Linked DNA regions of Homo sapiens: all the other regions are linked to region 1. The links are contacts of gene promoters, found by promoter capture Hi-C in blood cells and fetal thymus (Javierre and others, 2016). All regions are on one chromosome and are shown on one strand. Each heading gives the region's core, a stretch centred on a gene start or on the middle of the fragment in contact. The rest is flanking DNA. Distances are from core to core; before and after follow the strand shown.

Region 1 (3,503 bases), core at 1,004-3,503:
TTTTAGTAGAGACAGGGTTTCACCATGTTGCCCAGGCTGGTCTCAAACTCCTGAGCTCAGGCGATCCACCCGCCTTGGCCTCCCAAAGTGCTGGGATTACAGGTGTGAGCCACCATGCCCAGCCCACACAAATTGTTTCTTTGTCTGCTGCTGGCAACAGATAGTGAGCTCCTTAAAACAGGAGCCGTGTCTCTTTCATCACTGGGAACCCAGCAGCCACTATGGACATGGCTCTGACCAAGCACTCAAGAAGCTGAGACCCATAAGCTTCCAGAAGAGCTGCGCTGTGCACATATGAATTCAGCATACAGGGCAAGCTCTGCAGTGGATTCCAGGAGGAAGACAGGACAGCATGAAGGTTACAGATACAGACTTGGAGTGAGATAGCACTGACGGTAAGTTTTCATTCATCAAGCAACTCATTTATATTCTCTGAGCCATAGCACCTTTGTCTGTCAAATGGGGATAAACAATATCTACCATGTGGGGCTATTGTGAGGATTAAATTTAATGTGTATGGGCCGGGCACGGTGGCGCATGCCTGTAATCCCAGCACTTTGGGTTGTCGAGGCGGGCAGATCGTTTGAGATCAGGAGTTCGAGACCAGCCTGACCAACAGGGTGAAACCCCATCTCTACTAAAATACAAAAGAAGTTAGCTGGGCGTAGTGGTGCACGCCTGTACTTTCAGCTACTTGGGAGACTGAGGCAGGAGAATTGCTTGAATTCAGGAGGTGGAGGTTGCTGTGAGCTGAGACCATGCCACTGCACTCCACCCTAGGTGACAGAGCAAGACTGTGTCTCAAAAAAAAAAAAAGAAAGAAAGAAAACAAAATGTGTATGAAGCAATCCTCAATAAATGATGGCTGATAGTTTAATTTTGGTAATAACCCTAAAGGGGGGTTCCAAGATCAAGAAGAGAATAATAATGCCAATTAACATGTATTGGCCAGGCATGGTGGCTCACACCTGAAATCCCAGCACTTAGGGAGTGCGAGGTGGGTGGATCATTTGAGGTCAGGAGTTCAAGAGCAGCCTCGTCAACATGGTGAAACCCCGTCTCTACTAAAAATACAAAAATTAGCTGGGTGTGGTGTGCACCTGTAGTCGCAGCTACTAGGAAAGCTGAGGCAGGAGAATTGCCTGAACCCAGGAGGCAGAGATTGCAGTGAGCCAAGATTGCACCCCGGCACTCCAGCCTAGTGACAGAGTAAGACTCTGTCTCAAAAAAAAAAAAAAAAAAATTAGCCGGGGTGGGGTATGGTGGTGGGTGGCTGTAATCCCAGCTACTCAGGGGGCTAAGGCAGGAGGCTCACTTGAACCTGGGAGGCAGAGATTGCCATGAGTGGAGATCATGCCGCTGCACTCCAGCCTGGGTGACAGTGAGACTGTCTCAAAAAACAAAAACAAAAACAAAAAAACATGGGCTGGGCGCAGTGGCTCACACCTGTAATCCCAACACTTTGGAAGGGCAAGGCAGGCGGATCACGAGGTCAGGAGATCAAGACCATTCTGGCTAACATGGTGAAACCCCGTCTCTACTAAAAATAGAAAAAGTTAGCCGGGCGTGGTGGTGGGCGCCTGTAGTCCCAGCTACTTGGGAGGCTGAGGCAGGAAAATGGCATGAAGCTGGGAGGTGGAGGTTGCAGTGAGTCAAGATCGTGCCACTGCACTCCAGCCTGGGCGACAGAGCGAGACTCCATCTCAAAAACAAACAAAGAAACAAACAACAACAACAACAACAAAAACCATGTATTATGCTGTTAATATAAGGCTTACATATCTTAACTTTTTTGATCCTGTGGGCTAGGTATTATTATTCCCATTTTACAGAGGAAGAAACTGAGGCACGGGAAAGTTCAGCAACAAGCCCAAGGTCACACACCTACTTATGAGGGAGTCAGGCAGTCTTCACCCCAGAGCCAGCTGATCTCTAGATGGGACTGAAGACTGGACCACTTGGACCATTTTCTTTCCAACAACAGGGCTAAAGTAGCTGATGAAGCCATGGCGCCCCCATGGACTTCTTTGTCCAGCTTTGCCAGTGACCTGTGAGGTCACCTTGGTCTAGTCCTTCCCTTTTCTTGACCTCGGTTTCCTCATTTACAATGAAGGAGTTTGACACAATAATTCTTGATTCCGAACTATAGCCCAGGAAGAGGCATTTGGGAATGAGGCCCTGGCCTGCTGGTGACATCATAGAGGGGAGAGTTCCACGAGAATAGTCAGGCCTTTCTGGAAGCCCAGTGCCACAGTCTGCATTGAGCTTGGCTCAGGAAAGAAGGGAAATCCAGGCGGGGCCTGTTGGGCCCAGGTCTTGAGCTCTTTTGGCTCCAGAGTTCCCAGCACAGTCATGGATCAAAACTCAGTGCCTGAAAAGGCTCAGAATGAGGCAGACACCAATAACGCAGATAGGTTCTTTCGCTCTCACTCATCACCCCCACACCACAGGCCAGGCCACAGCAGAGCTCTCCACCATTACGAGTTGCACCATCACGGCGTGCCCCACCAACGTGGTGAATCTCACCACCCTCCGGAGTTCCAAGACTTCCACGACCAAGCCTTGTCCTCCCATGTCCACCAATCTCACCACCACAGCGAGGCACGGAATCACGGCAGAGCCCATGGCCCCACAGGCTTTGGTCTGGCTCCCTCTCAAGGCGCCGTCCCCTCCCACCGTTCCTACGGTGAGGACTACCATGATGAGCTCCAACGTGATGGCAGGAGGCATCATGATGGGTCCCAATACGGTGGGTTCCATCAGCAGAGTGACTCCCATTACCATAGGGGGTCTCACCATGGCAGACCCCAATATCTCGGTGAGAATTTATCCCACTATTCCTCTGGCGTGCCCCACCACGGTGAGGCTTCCCACCATGGTGGGTCCTACCTCCCCCATGGACCCAATCCCTACAGTGAGTCCTTCCACCACAGCGAGGCTTCCCACCTTAGCGGGCTCCAACACGATGAGTCCCAGCATCACCAAGTCCCCCACCGTGGCTGGCCCCACCATCACCAAGTCCACCACCATGGCAGGTCCCGTCATCATGAAGCCCACCAGCATGGAAAGTCTCCTCATCACGGAGAGACCATTTCCCCTCATTCCTCTGTGGGGTCCTACCAGCGTGGGATATCTGACTATCACAGCGAGTACCACCAAGGTGATCACCACCCCAGTGAGTACCACCATGGCGACCATCCCCACCACACACAGCACCACTACCACCAGACCCACCGGCACCGAGACTACCATCAGCACCAAGACCACCACGGCGCGTATCATTCCAGTTACCTCCATGGCGACTACGTCCAGAGCACTTCCCAACTCTCTATCCCACACACATCCCGGAGCCTGATTCACGATGCCCCCGGCCCTGCTGCTTCTCGTACAGGAGTCTTCCCCTATCACGTAGCACACCCACGGGGCTCGGCTCACAGCATGACTCGGTCCTCCAGCACAATCCGCTCACGTGTCACCCAGATGTCCAAAAAAGTCCATACCCA
Region 2 (3,503 bases), core at 519-3,018, 420 kb after region 1:
AGAGGTGAAGTAACCTACCTCAAACCCCCAGCTGAGGATTTGAACCCAGAGAGGCTTCAGCTCCAATGCTCTCGTAGTGAGCTCAGAAGCTTTCACTTGAAGAAAGGGCTTCTCACGTATAGACTGCTTAGGAAGCCAGAGGGTCAGGCAGAAGGCAGGGCTCCAGCATTGCAGGGAGGAGGGCTCACTCAGCTCAACACTGCCCAGCTCTGAGTGAGGCCAGAGAGTTATGGCCTCCCTTGCCTGTGGGTCCCTGTGCCAACCTAGGGACCATCCTCAGAGCCCCCACACCTGCTGCTCACAGCCAGAATGTAGGACCCGCTTAGCTGCTCTCAGAAGAGTCCTGTTCAGCAAGCCGTTTAAACTCACTCCTCCCATCCCACCCAGCCCATCGCCTCTTCCATTCCCTGAGCTACACTTGATAGTTGTAACAACAGCTAACCTTTGTTGGTTCTCTTCTATGTGCCAAGCAGTTCTGTGAGGGGAGTAGTAGTATTGGCCTGCATTTTACAACAGAGAAAACTGAGGCACAGAGAGATTAAGTGGTTTGATGTAAGGCAACCAGTAGAGCAGGGATTTGATCTGCTCTTGCCTGTCTGACCACAGAGGCAGAGCCCTGGGCCTCCATCTGCCCCGCCATTTGCTACTCCAGCAGCTGCACTGCCCCCAGCATCTGTCCTGCAGGGACTGAACTGAGAGCTGGAAGGCCAAGGAGGCTTCTTGAATTCACTTGCTCTAAATTGTACCAGGCCAGATGGGCCAAAGGAGAACTTGAGAGCCTGTCAACCCAGGTGTGTAGGCTGAAGCAGGTCCTGACTGTTCCACAGAACTCTCTGGCCCTCAGCTCCCAGAAGCAGGGGCACAAGGGGCCTGGGCCCCATCGTTCTCAAGCTTGCCCCATGTTTTTTTATCCAAAGAATTTGTTAATTATTTATGAAGAGAAACTACTTATTAGCCCATATATTCATGAATAGTTCAGATCAGTGACAAACTTCTAAGTAATTCAACCCAAAGAAATTCTTCATATTCCAAAATCACTTTGCATTCTGAGAGATAGCAGCCTTCCTCATCTCCTCGAAGTATTTCATGGCATCATAACTTCTGTAGACATCTGTGCCCATAGAAATCTGAAATGCCTTCTTTCTTGGTCCAGCCCCTGCAAACTGAGAGAGCCGCAGCCCCCAGGGATACAGTGAATGCTCCCACAATATGAAATTGCAGATGTGTGGCCAGAAGGCCACATGTCTGAGGTTTCATGAAAGCACTGGAAACCATGGTAGTTACTGTTCTTGATAAGTATGTCGGCCTCAACACCAGTGCCCTTCCTGGCTGATGAAGAAATGGATTGCCACTTGCCCTGAAAGGATGTCAGCTGCCCAGCTCAGTGGCTGGCTGAGCATCTGGTTCCCCTAGCCCAATCCCACACTCCACGCATCATCTGGGTCCATGAAAGTACATGACATTGACCTCACAGCCACCCCCCGAAACCCAGCTAAGAATCAAATAATGGGGCTTCACAGAGGTCCCAGACCCTGTGAGATGGTCCCCGGCATAAGCCATACCACTGGAGAGTCACACACACCCTCACCCTGTCCCCAGTGGGCTGTTCTGGTCCCTGGAGAGCTGGCTGCAAGGAGTGGCACATTGGCAGGGTGCACTCAGCTACGCTGATAGCAACTGCCCTGTGAAGCTTGTTGCCTTAGAGCCAATAACTACGTGGCTGTGTCCTCCCTGTGAGACCTCACGGAAGCAGTTTCGCCTCTATCTATCTATCTTTGGGTCAAGAATAGTCACGCAGCTTTCTCCTAAACAACAGAGTTGCTAACTCTTGCTGCCAGGAAGCTTAGAGGCAGATTCAAATCCTAGCTGGATTATGTTGACCAAGTCCCTTACCCTTCAGAACCTCAGTTTCTCAGGCCATTGACTGCAGGAACTTCTGTTCACTCTCATTTTGTCTGCTGGACCCTATCTTCTCTTCCCTTTGTCTCATTTCTGTCTTTTATTTTTTTAAAGATAGAGTCTCATTCTGTTACCCAGGCTGGACTGCAATGGCATGATCATGGCTCACTGCAAACTCTGCCTCCCAGGCTCAAGTGATCCTCCCACCTCAGCTTCCTGAGTAGCAGGGACTACAGGTGCATGCCATGCTTGGCTAATTTTTATATTTTTTGTAGAGATGGGGTTTTGCCATGTTGCCCAGGCTGGGCTGCGCTTAAGTAGTCCACCCACCCCAGCCTCCCAAAGTGCTGGCATTACAGGTGTGAGCCACCACACCCAGCTTGCTCTTGCTATTTTCTTTTTTTTTTTTTAGAAGGAGTCTTGTTCTGTCACCCAGGCTGGAGTGCAGTGGTGCGACCTCAGCTCACTTCAGCCTCCACCTCCCACGTTCAAGCAATTCTCCCTCAGCCTCCCCAGTAGCTGGGATTACAGGCATGTGCCACCATGCCCAGCTAATTTTTTTTTTTTTGAGATGAAGTGTCATTCTGTTGCCCAGGCTGGAGGGCAGTGGTGCAATCTCGGCTCACTACAACCTCCACCTCCCAGGTTCAAGTGATTCTCCTGCCTCAGCCTCCCAAGTAGCAGGGATTACAGGCATGTGCCACAATGCCCGGCTAATGTTTGTATTTGTAGTAGAGATGAGGTTTCACCATGTTGACCAGGCTGGTCCCGAACTCCTGACCTCAAGTGAGCCACCTGCTTCAGCTTCCCAAAGTGCTGGGATTACAAGCGTGAACCACCATGCCCGGCCTAATTTTTGTATTTAGTAGAGACAGGGTTTGACCATGTTGGCCAGGCTAGTCATGCACTCCTGACCTCAAGTGATCTGCCCTACTTGGCCTCCCAAAGTGCTGGGATTATAGGCTTGAGCCACCACTCCCAGCCTCTCTTGCTTTTTTTTTTTTTTTTTTTGAGATGGAGTCTCACTCTGTCACCCAGGCTGGAGCGCAGTGGCGGGATCTCGGCTCACTGTAACCTCCGCCTCCTGGGTTCAAGCGATTCTCCTGCCTCAGCCTCCCAAGTAGCTGAGACTACAGGTGCGTGCCACCATGCCCTGCTAATTTTTGTATTTTTTAGTAGAGACAGGGTTTCACCATGTTGGCCAGGATGGTCTCGATTTCTTGACCTCGTGATCCGCCCACCTTGGCCTCCCAAAGTGCTGGGATTACAGGTGTGAGCCACCGCACCCGGCCAACTCTTTCTTTTTTTTAAACATGATTTCCCCTCTTCTGTTTAAACTCACTGTAAATGATCAGTTCTTCACCTGCGAAGTGGGGGTGATATGATAACCTCGTGGTTGGTGCAAGGATTATAAAAATGGATTCTTCATCAAACAAGAATTTGCTTTTTTTTTTTTTTGAGACGGAGTCTCGCTCTGTTGCCCAGGCTGGAGTGCAGTGGTGTGATTTTGGCTCACTGCAAGCTCCGCCTCCTGGGTTCATGCCATTCTCCTGCCTCAGCCTCTTGAGTATCTGGGACTACAGGCGCCCACCACCACGCCTGGC
Region 3 (3,503 bases), core at 632-3,131, 290 kb after region 1:
CCATTAACCTAAGGGCCAAACTAATGGCTAAAGTTGTTTCCATCTTTCCTGTGATCCAGAGCCCATACTCTGAACTACTTTCTTATGTAACCCTCAATCACCAAACCAATATTTCTCCTGCCCTGAATCAAATCAGGGCCAGGTGCTAGACAACAAGGGACAGCCCCTATGCCCCCAAACCCACCAGAGTTATTCAAATTAGCCAATCCTATGCTCTTTCTGAGGTAGGAGACCAGTAGGACTTGTTTTCTGATCACAACACTGCTGACCAAAACAGGATCTGATCTAGACAGGATAAAGTGAGGAAACTGGCAGGAACCAGCAGATAGCAAGGAAAGTGATCCCTGGCTGCCCTCATTATTCATTAGCATAAGACACTCCCACAAGTACTGTGACCATTTAGAAATGCCATGGCAATGACCTGGAAGCTACCACCCCTTTCCATGCCAACAACTTGGAGGTTACTGTCTCTTTCCTAGAAAGTTCTAAATAACTAGCCCCTCAATTTGAATTGACTCACGCCTTAATTTGAATATAATTGAAAATGCATTTAAGTGAATATAAACACAGTTGTCAAGACCCCATACATTTCTTTTTTTTTTTCTTCTTTTTTTGAGATAAAGTCTCACCATGTCATCCAGGCTGGAGTGCAGCGGTGTGATCTTGGCTCACTGCAACCTCCGACTCCTGGGTTCAAGAGATTCTCCTGTGTCAGCTTCCCAAGTATCTGGGACAGGCACCCGCCACCATGCCTGGATAATTTTTGTATTTTTAGTAGAGACGGGGTTTCACTATGTTGGCCGGGCTGGTCTTGAACTCCTGACCTCATGATCCACCCAACTCAGCCTCCCAAAGTGCTGGGATTACAGGCGTGAGCCACCATGCCTGGCATTTTTTGTTTTGTTTTGTTTTGTTTTGAGACGGAGTCTCGCTCTGTCGCTCAGGCTGGAGTGCAATGCACCATCTTGGCTCGCTGCAACTTCTGCCTCCTGGGTTTAAGTGATTCTACTGCCTCAGCCTCCCGAGTAGCTTGGATTACAGGCGCTCACCACCACACCCAGCTAATTTTTGTATTTTTAGTAGACACGAGGTTTCAAAATGTTGGCCAGGATGGTCTGGAACTCCTGACCTCAAGTGATGTGCCTGCCTCGGCCTCCCAAAGTGCTGGAATTACAGATGCGAGCCACCATGCCTGGCCAAACCCATACATTTCTTACTCTGGGTGCACTGCCAATGAGTTAGTCATGGTCTGCAAGGAGCAGCACCATTCAGTAAAAGTTGCTGCTGTCTAACACCACTGGCTCACCCTTGAATTCTTTCCTGGGTGAAGCCAAGAACTCACCCAAGCTCAGCCCCAGTTTTGGGGCTTACCTGTCCTGTATCATCTGGTGACCACAAAGACGACAAAGACAGCAGAGATGACAGCTATTGGTGACTGGTGAAGTGGCAGTGAGATAGTGGTGACCAGCGATCAGCAGAGAAGTGATGTGACAGCAGAGACAGCAGCAATCAGTGGACAGATGGTGAGAGACAGTGATTGACAGTGAGACTGGTGATCCACGATTGGCAGAGAGGTGAGACGATGAGAGACAGTGAGAAATGGCGATCAGCTAGACAGAGATTGGCAAGGCGGCGGACAGGGAAGGGGCAGCAATAAGAGAGAGGCAATGAGAGGCAGCAAGACAGCGATGAATGAGAGTAGGTGAGATGGTGATTGGTGCTACAGCAATACAAGCTGCAGAGCTGTAAGACTAGCCAAAGGCTCTTTTAAGAGCCATTACCTTTCCTGGCAGGCAGTGGAGCCAAGTAGGCAGGTGAGCAGCCACAGAGCCACTGCCTTGTGTGGGACCCACCACTCTGACCAGCAGATCACTGGCCTGTGCGCCAGTACCCCCCATGGTAGCTGAGCCTGTTCAAGCTGAGGAAACTTGGGGAGGAGCCCTTAACCCAGGCCCCAGGTTGGAGACTGACTAGTCCATTTTGGCTCCTGCAGATGGGTGACTGTCCCCTCTGCCCCTTGATATTGAGTAAGCCAGGAAATAAGGCTTTGGGCATCTTAGATTGTCATTTCAAAGTCTCCCATGGCATACCTGACCAACTACGTCCTTGTCACTCCTTCTCTCGGTCCTTTCCCTAACATCTTTTCATTTTTCCATTGCCATTTCATTTATTTTTTATTTTAAATATTTTTCTTTTTCTTTTTATTTATGTATTCATTGTTTGAGATGGAGTCTCACTCTGTATCCAAGCTGGACTGCAGTGGCATGATCTTGGCTCACTGCAACCTCCACCTCCTGGGCTCAAGCGATCCTCCCACCTCAGCCTCCTGAGTAGCTGGGACCACAGGTGCATGCCACCACACTTGGTTAATTTTTTGTATTTTTGGTAGAGACAGGGTTTCACCATGTTGCCCAGGCTGGTCTCGAACTCCTGAGCTCAAGCAATCCACCTGCCTCAGCCTCCCAAAGTGCAAAGATTACAGGCATGAGCCACCATGCCCAGCCTTTTATTTTATTTTAATTTTTTCTCTGAAATGTATGTTTCATTTGTAGTTTTTGCTTTAGTTCCCTGATAAACTATTTGGGCAGTTGTTTAAGGCAGAACACTTGTCTTTGAGAGGTCCCCTGTTGTGTTGACCCTGGGACACCAGAGTCATGTTGTTCTGTGGCCCCAACCAGGCCTTTGAGGTTCACTGCTGGCTGCCCCCTGGGCACTCCAAGGGTTTTGGTATTGGTACTGTCTCTCAGGATTGTGGGATAGAGGCCCACCCTAGGGGAATCTCAGTCTTGCCTTTTCTTGTTTTCTGCCTTAAAGTTAAAGTTATTTTCTGTAACAGCATTTTCTTTTCTTGTCACTTCATTTACACTTTTCCTTCTACATTTTGCTTGATAAAAATACTTTCTTTGTCGTACTTCATCCACTGGAAAATGCCTATAATCCACTTTCATAATGCCTTGCTTATACCTCTGCAGGAAGTGAGAATCTAAAAGGGAAAAATAATGAGAGCCCAGTTGTTTTCCCTCTCACTAGACTTAGAAAAACCTCTGGCCAGGCGCAGTGGCTCACGCCTGTAATCCCAACACTTTGGGAGGCCAAGGCGGGTGGATTACTTGAGGTCAGGAGTTCGAGACCAGCCTGACCAACATGGTGAAATTCCATCTCTAGTAAAAAAATACAAAATTAGCCAGGCGTGGTGGTGCACGCCTGTAATCCCAGCTACTCAGGAGGCTGAGGCAGGAGAACTGCTTGAATCCGGGAAACGGAGGTGGCAGTGAGCCAAGATTGTGCCATTGCACTACAGCCTGGGCAACAAGAGCGAAACTCCATCTCAAAAAAAAAAAAAAAAGAAAAAAGAAAAAGAAAAGAAAAACTTCTATGTCCAGTATAAATCCTTGTTAGACATGGAGACAATGATGAACATCCCAGAAGACTTACCACTAGGGTGTCTTTTAGGCTGTTGGAGCAAATTCAAATTCAACCTAAAGAAAAAGAAACTCATTTTC
Region 4 (3,503 bases), core at 559-3,058, 270 kb after region 1:
CCTCAGCCTTCCAAGTAGCTGGGCCACAGGCATGCAGCACAATGCCTGGCTAATTTTTGTATTTTCAGTAGATACAGGATTTTGCCATGTTGTCCAGGCTGGACTCAAACTCCTGAGCTCAAGTGATCCACCCACTTTGGCCTCCCAAAGTGCTAGGATTACAGGTATGAGCCATGGCGCCTGGCCGAGCTTGGCAGTTTTTTATAAAGCTAAACATGCAACCACCATACAACCAACCAATTACACTCTTGGGCATTTATCCCAGAGAAATGAAAACATATTAACAAAAAACCCACACATGAATGCTCATAGCATCCTTGGTCATAATAGCTAAAAACTGGAAACAAATCAGATGTCCTTCAATGGGTGAATGGTTAACAAATTTTGGTACATCTGCACCATGGAATACTACTCAGCAATAAAAAAGGAACAAACTACTGATACACATGACAACCTGAATGAATCTCCAGGGGATTATGTTGAGTGAAAAAAAGGTAACTCTACAATATTACAAACTGTATGATTCCATTTATAGTCCATTCTCAAAATGACAAAAATCGTAGACGTGGAGAACAGATTAGTGATTGCCAGAGGTTAAGGAGTGGGTGTGAGTGAGAGGGAAGTGATCATGGAAATGATCAGTATCTTGACTGTATCAATACCAATATCCTAGTTATGATATCATACCATAGTCTTACAAGATGTTATTGTTGAGGGAAACAGGTTTAAGGGTAAAGAGATCTGTATTAGTACTTACAACTACATGTGAATAAAAAGACAACTGATGAAATGGGAGAAAATATTTACAACAGACCAAGGGCTAAAGAACTCTTAAAACTTAAGGAAAAAAAAACAATGATCATCTCAACTGATGCAGAAAAAGTATTTGATAAACTCCAACCCCCTTTCATGATAAAAAATTTTTACTAATTAGAAATAGAAGAGAGCTTCTTCAACATGATAAAAGGCACTTATTAAAAAAATCTCGGCCGGGCGCCATGGCTCACGCCTGTAATCCCAGCACTTTGGGAGGCTGAGTCAGGCGGATCATGAGGTCAGGAGATCGAGACCATCTTGGCTAACACGGTGAAACCCCGTCTCTACTAAAAAACACAAACAATTAGCCAGGCGTGGTGGCGGGCGCCTGTAGTTCCAGCTACTTGGGAGGCTGAGGCAGGAGAATGGCGTGAACCCGGGAGGCAGAGCTTGCAGTGAGCCGAGATGGAGCCACTGCACTCCAGACTGGGCAACAGAGCGAGACTCTGTCTCAAAAAAAAAAAAAAAAAAACTCATACTCGGTGGTGAAAGACTGAGAACTTTTTGCCTAAGATCAGGAATAAGACAAGGATGTCTTTTTTTTTTCTTTCTGTCGCCTGGGCAACAGAGCAACATCCTGTCTCAAAAAATAAAATTAAATTAAAAACTCACTGCAGCCTGGATCTCCCTGGGCTCAAATGATCCTCCTACCTCAGACTCTCAAGTAGCTGGAACTACAGGCACAGGCACACACCACCATGCCTGGCTGATTTTTTTTTTTTATTTTTAATAGAAATGAGGTCTTCTGTCCAGGCGCAATGGCTCATGCCTGTAATCCCAGCACTTTGGGAGGCCGAGGCGGGTGGATCACAAGGTCAGGAGATAGAGACCATCCTGGCTAATACGGTGAAACCTTGTCTCTACTAAAAATACCAAAAAAATAGCCGGGTGTGGTGCCCGTGAACCCGGGAGACAGAGCTTGCAGTGAGCCAAGATCACGCCACTGCACTCCAGCCTGGGTGACAGAGTGAGACTCCATCTCCAAAAAAAAAAAAAAAAAAAGACAAAAAAGAAATGAGGCCTCACCATGTTACCCAGGCTGGTCTAGAACTCCTGGGCTCAAGCAATCCTCCCACCTTGGCCTCCCAAAGTGCTGGGATTACAGGCATGAACCACCGTGCCCAGTGGATGTCCACTTTTTTGTTTTTGTTTTTGTTTGTTTGTTTTTGAGACGGAGTGTCGCTCTGTCGCCCAGGCTGCAGTGCAGTGGCGCTATCTCGGCTTACTGCAAGCCGCCTCCCGGATTCCCACCATTCTCCTGCCTCAGCCTCCCGAGTAGCTGGGACTACAGGAGCCCGCCACCACACCTGGATAATTTTTTGTATTTTTAGTAAAGACGGGGTTTCACCGTGTTAGCCACGATGGTCTCGATCTCCTGACCTCGTGATCCACCTGCCTCGGCCTCCCAAAGTGCTGGGATTACAGGGGTGAGCCACCGTGTCCGGCCTGGATGTCCACTTTTAACACTTTTACTCAACACTGTCCTGGAAGTTCTGGCCAGAGTAATTAGGTAAGGAAAATAAATAAAAGGCATATAGATCAGAAAGGAAGAAGTAAGAATATCTCTTAAAAGATGACGTGATCTTTTATGAAAAAGTCCTAAAGAATCCACAAAAAACTAGTAGAGTTAATAAATGAACTCGGCAAAGTTTTCGGATATAAGATCAATAGGCAAAAATGAATTGTATCGCTATAATATATGCTAGCAATGAACAATTCCAAAAGGAAATTACAAAAACAATTACATTTATAATAGCAGCAAAAAGAATAAAATACTTGGGAATAAATCTAATTGAGGAAATACAAGAGTTGTATACCAAAAATTAAAAAACATGCTAAAAGAAATAAAGAAGACATAAATAATGGAAAGACATTCATGTACATGGATTGAAAGACTTAGTATTGTTAAGATGGCAGTAATCCCCAAAGTAATCTATAAACGCAATGCAATCCCTATGACAGTCCCAATGGTCTTTTATGAAGAAATGGAAATGCTGATCCTAAAATCCACATGGAATTGCAAGGGGTCCTAAATAGCTAAAACAATCTTGAAAAAGAGCACTCCTCTACAGAAACAGGCAGATCTGCTAGGCAGAATATCAGTAAGGATGTAGTTGAATTCAACAGCACTGCCAGTTAACAGAATACAGTTGACATCTAGCCGGGCGCGGTGGCTCACGCCTGTAATCCCAGCACTTTGGGAGGTCGAGGTGGGTGGATCACGAGGTCAGGAGATCGAGACCATCCTGCCTAACATGGTGAAACCCCGTCTCTACTAAAAATACAAAACAAATTAGCCGGGCGTGGTGGCGGGCGCCTGTAGTCCCAGCTACTGGGGAAGCTGAAGCAGGAGAATGGCGTGAACCCGGGAGGCGGATCTTGCAGTGAGCTGAGATTGCGCCACTGCACTCCAGCCTGGGTGGCTGAGCAAGACTCTGTCTCAAAAAAAAAAAAAGAAAAAAAAATTTTAAGAAAGAATACAGTTGACATCTATAGAATAGTTCATCCCACAACAGCAGAATACACATTGTTTTCAAGACCAAATGGAATATTCACCAGATAGACCACATTCTGAGCCATAAAACACACTTTAACAAATTTAAAACAATAGAAACCATGCAATTTCTTCTCTCAGACCACAATGGAATTAAACTAGAAATCAATAACAGAAAGATGGCTGAAAAATC

The links. Contacts are between HindIII fragments. The CHiCAGO score rates a contact against its expected background, and 5 or more counts as called.
Region 2: a contact is called between a fragment that was not itself captured here and the fragment with the promoter of CATSPER1 in region 1, in 2 of 17 cell types (total B cells and naive B cells). The highest score is 5.7, in total B cells.
Region 3: a fragment that was not itself captured here is called in contact with the fragment with the promoter of CATSPER1 in region 1 in 1 of 17 cell types (naive CD4 T cells); the score reaches 5.3 in naive CD4 T cells.
Region 4: a fragment that was not itself captured here is called in contact with the fragment with the promoter of CATSPER1 in region 1 in 1 of 17 cell types (naive CD8 T cells); the score reaches 5.9 in naive CD8 T cells.

The regions. Positions count from the first base shown.
Region 1 is chr11:66,025,229-66,028,731 of GRCh38, reverse strand. It overlaps CATSPER1 (cation channel sperm associated 1), which reads left to right and starts at 2,253. Exons shown (of 12, transcript NM_053054.4): 1 at 2,253-3,503. The coding sequence starts at 2,353. The HindIII fragment of the contact is 12,999 bases long and covers 270-3,503 here.
Region 2 is chr11:65,601,610-65,605,112 of GRCh38, reverse strand. All of the region lies in intron 8 of MAP3K11 (mitogen-activated protein kinase kinase kinase 11), which reads left to right. Among named protein-coding and RNA genes, the nearest start is that of KCNK7, 7.6 kb to the right of the region's middle. The HindIII fragment of the contact is 152 bases long and covers 1,693-1,844 here.
Region 3 is chr11:65,739,414-65,742,916 of GRCh38, reverse strand. No RefSeq gene overlaps it. Among named protein-coding and RNA genes, the nearest start is that of RNASEH2C, 20 kb to the right of the region's middle. The HindIII fragment of the contact is 8,139 bases long and covers 1-3,503 here.
Region 4 is chr11:65,756,532-65,760,034 of GRCh38, reverse strand. No RefSeq gene overlaps it. Among named protein-coding and RNA genes, the nearest start is that of AP5B1, 23 kb to the left of the region's middle. The HindIII fragment of the contact is 6,177 bases long and covers 1-3,503 here.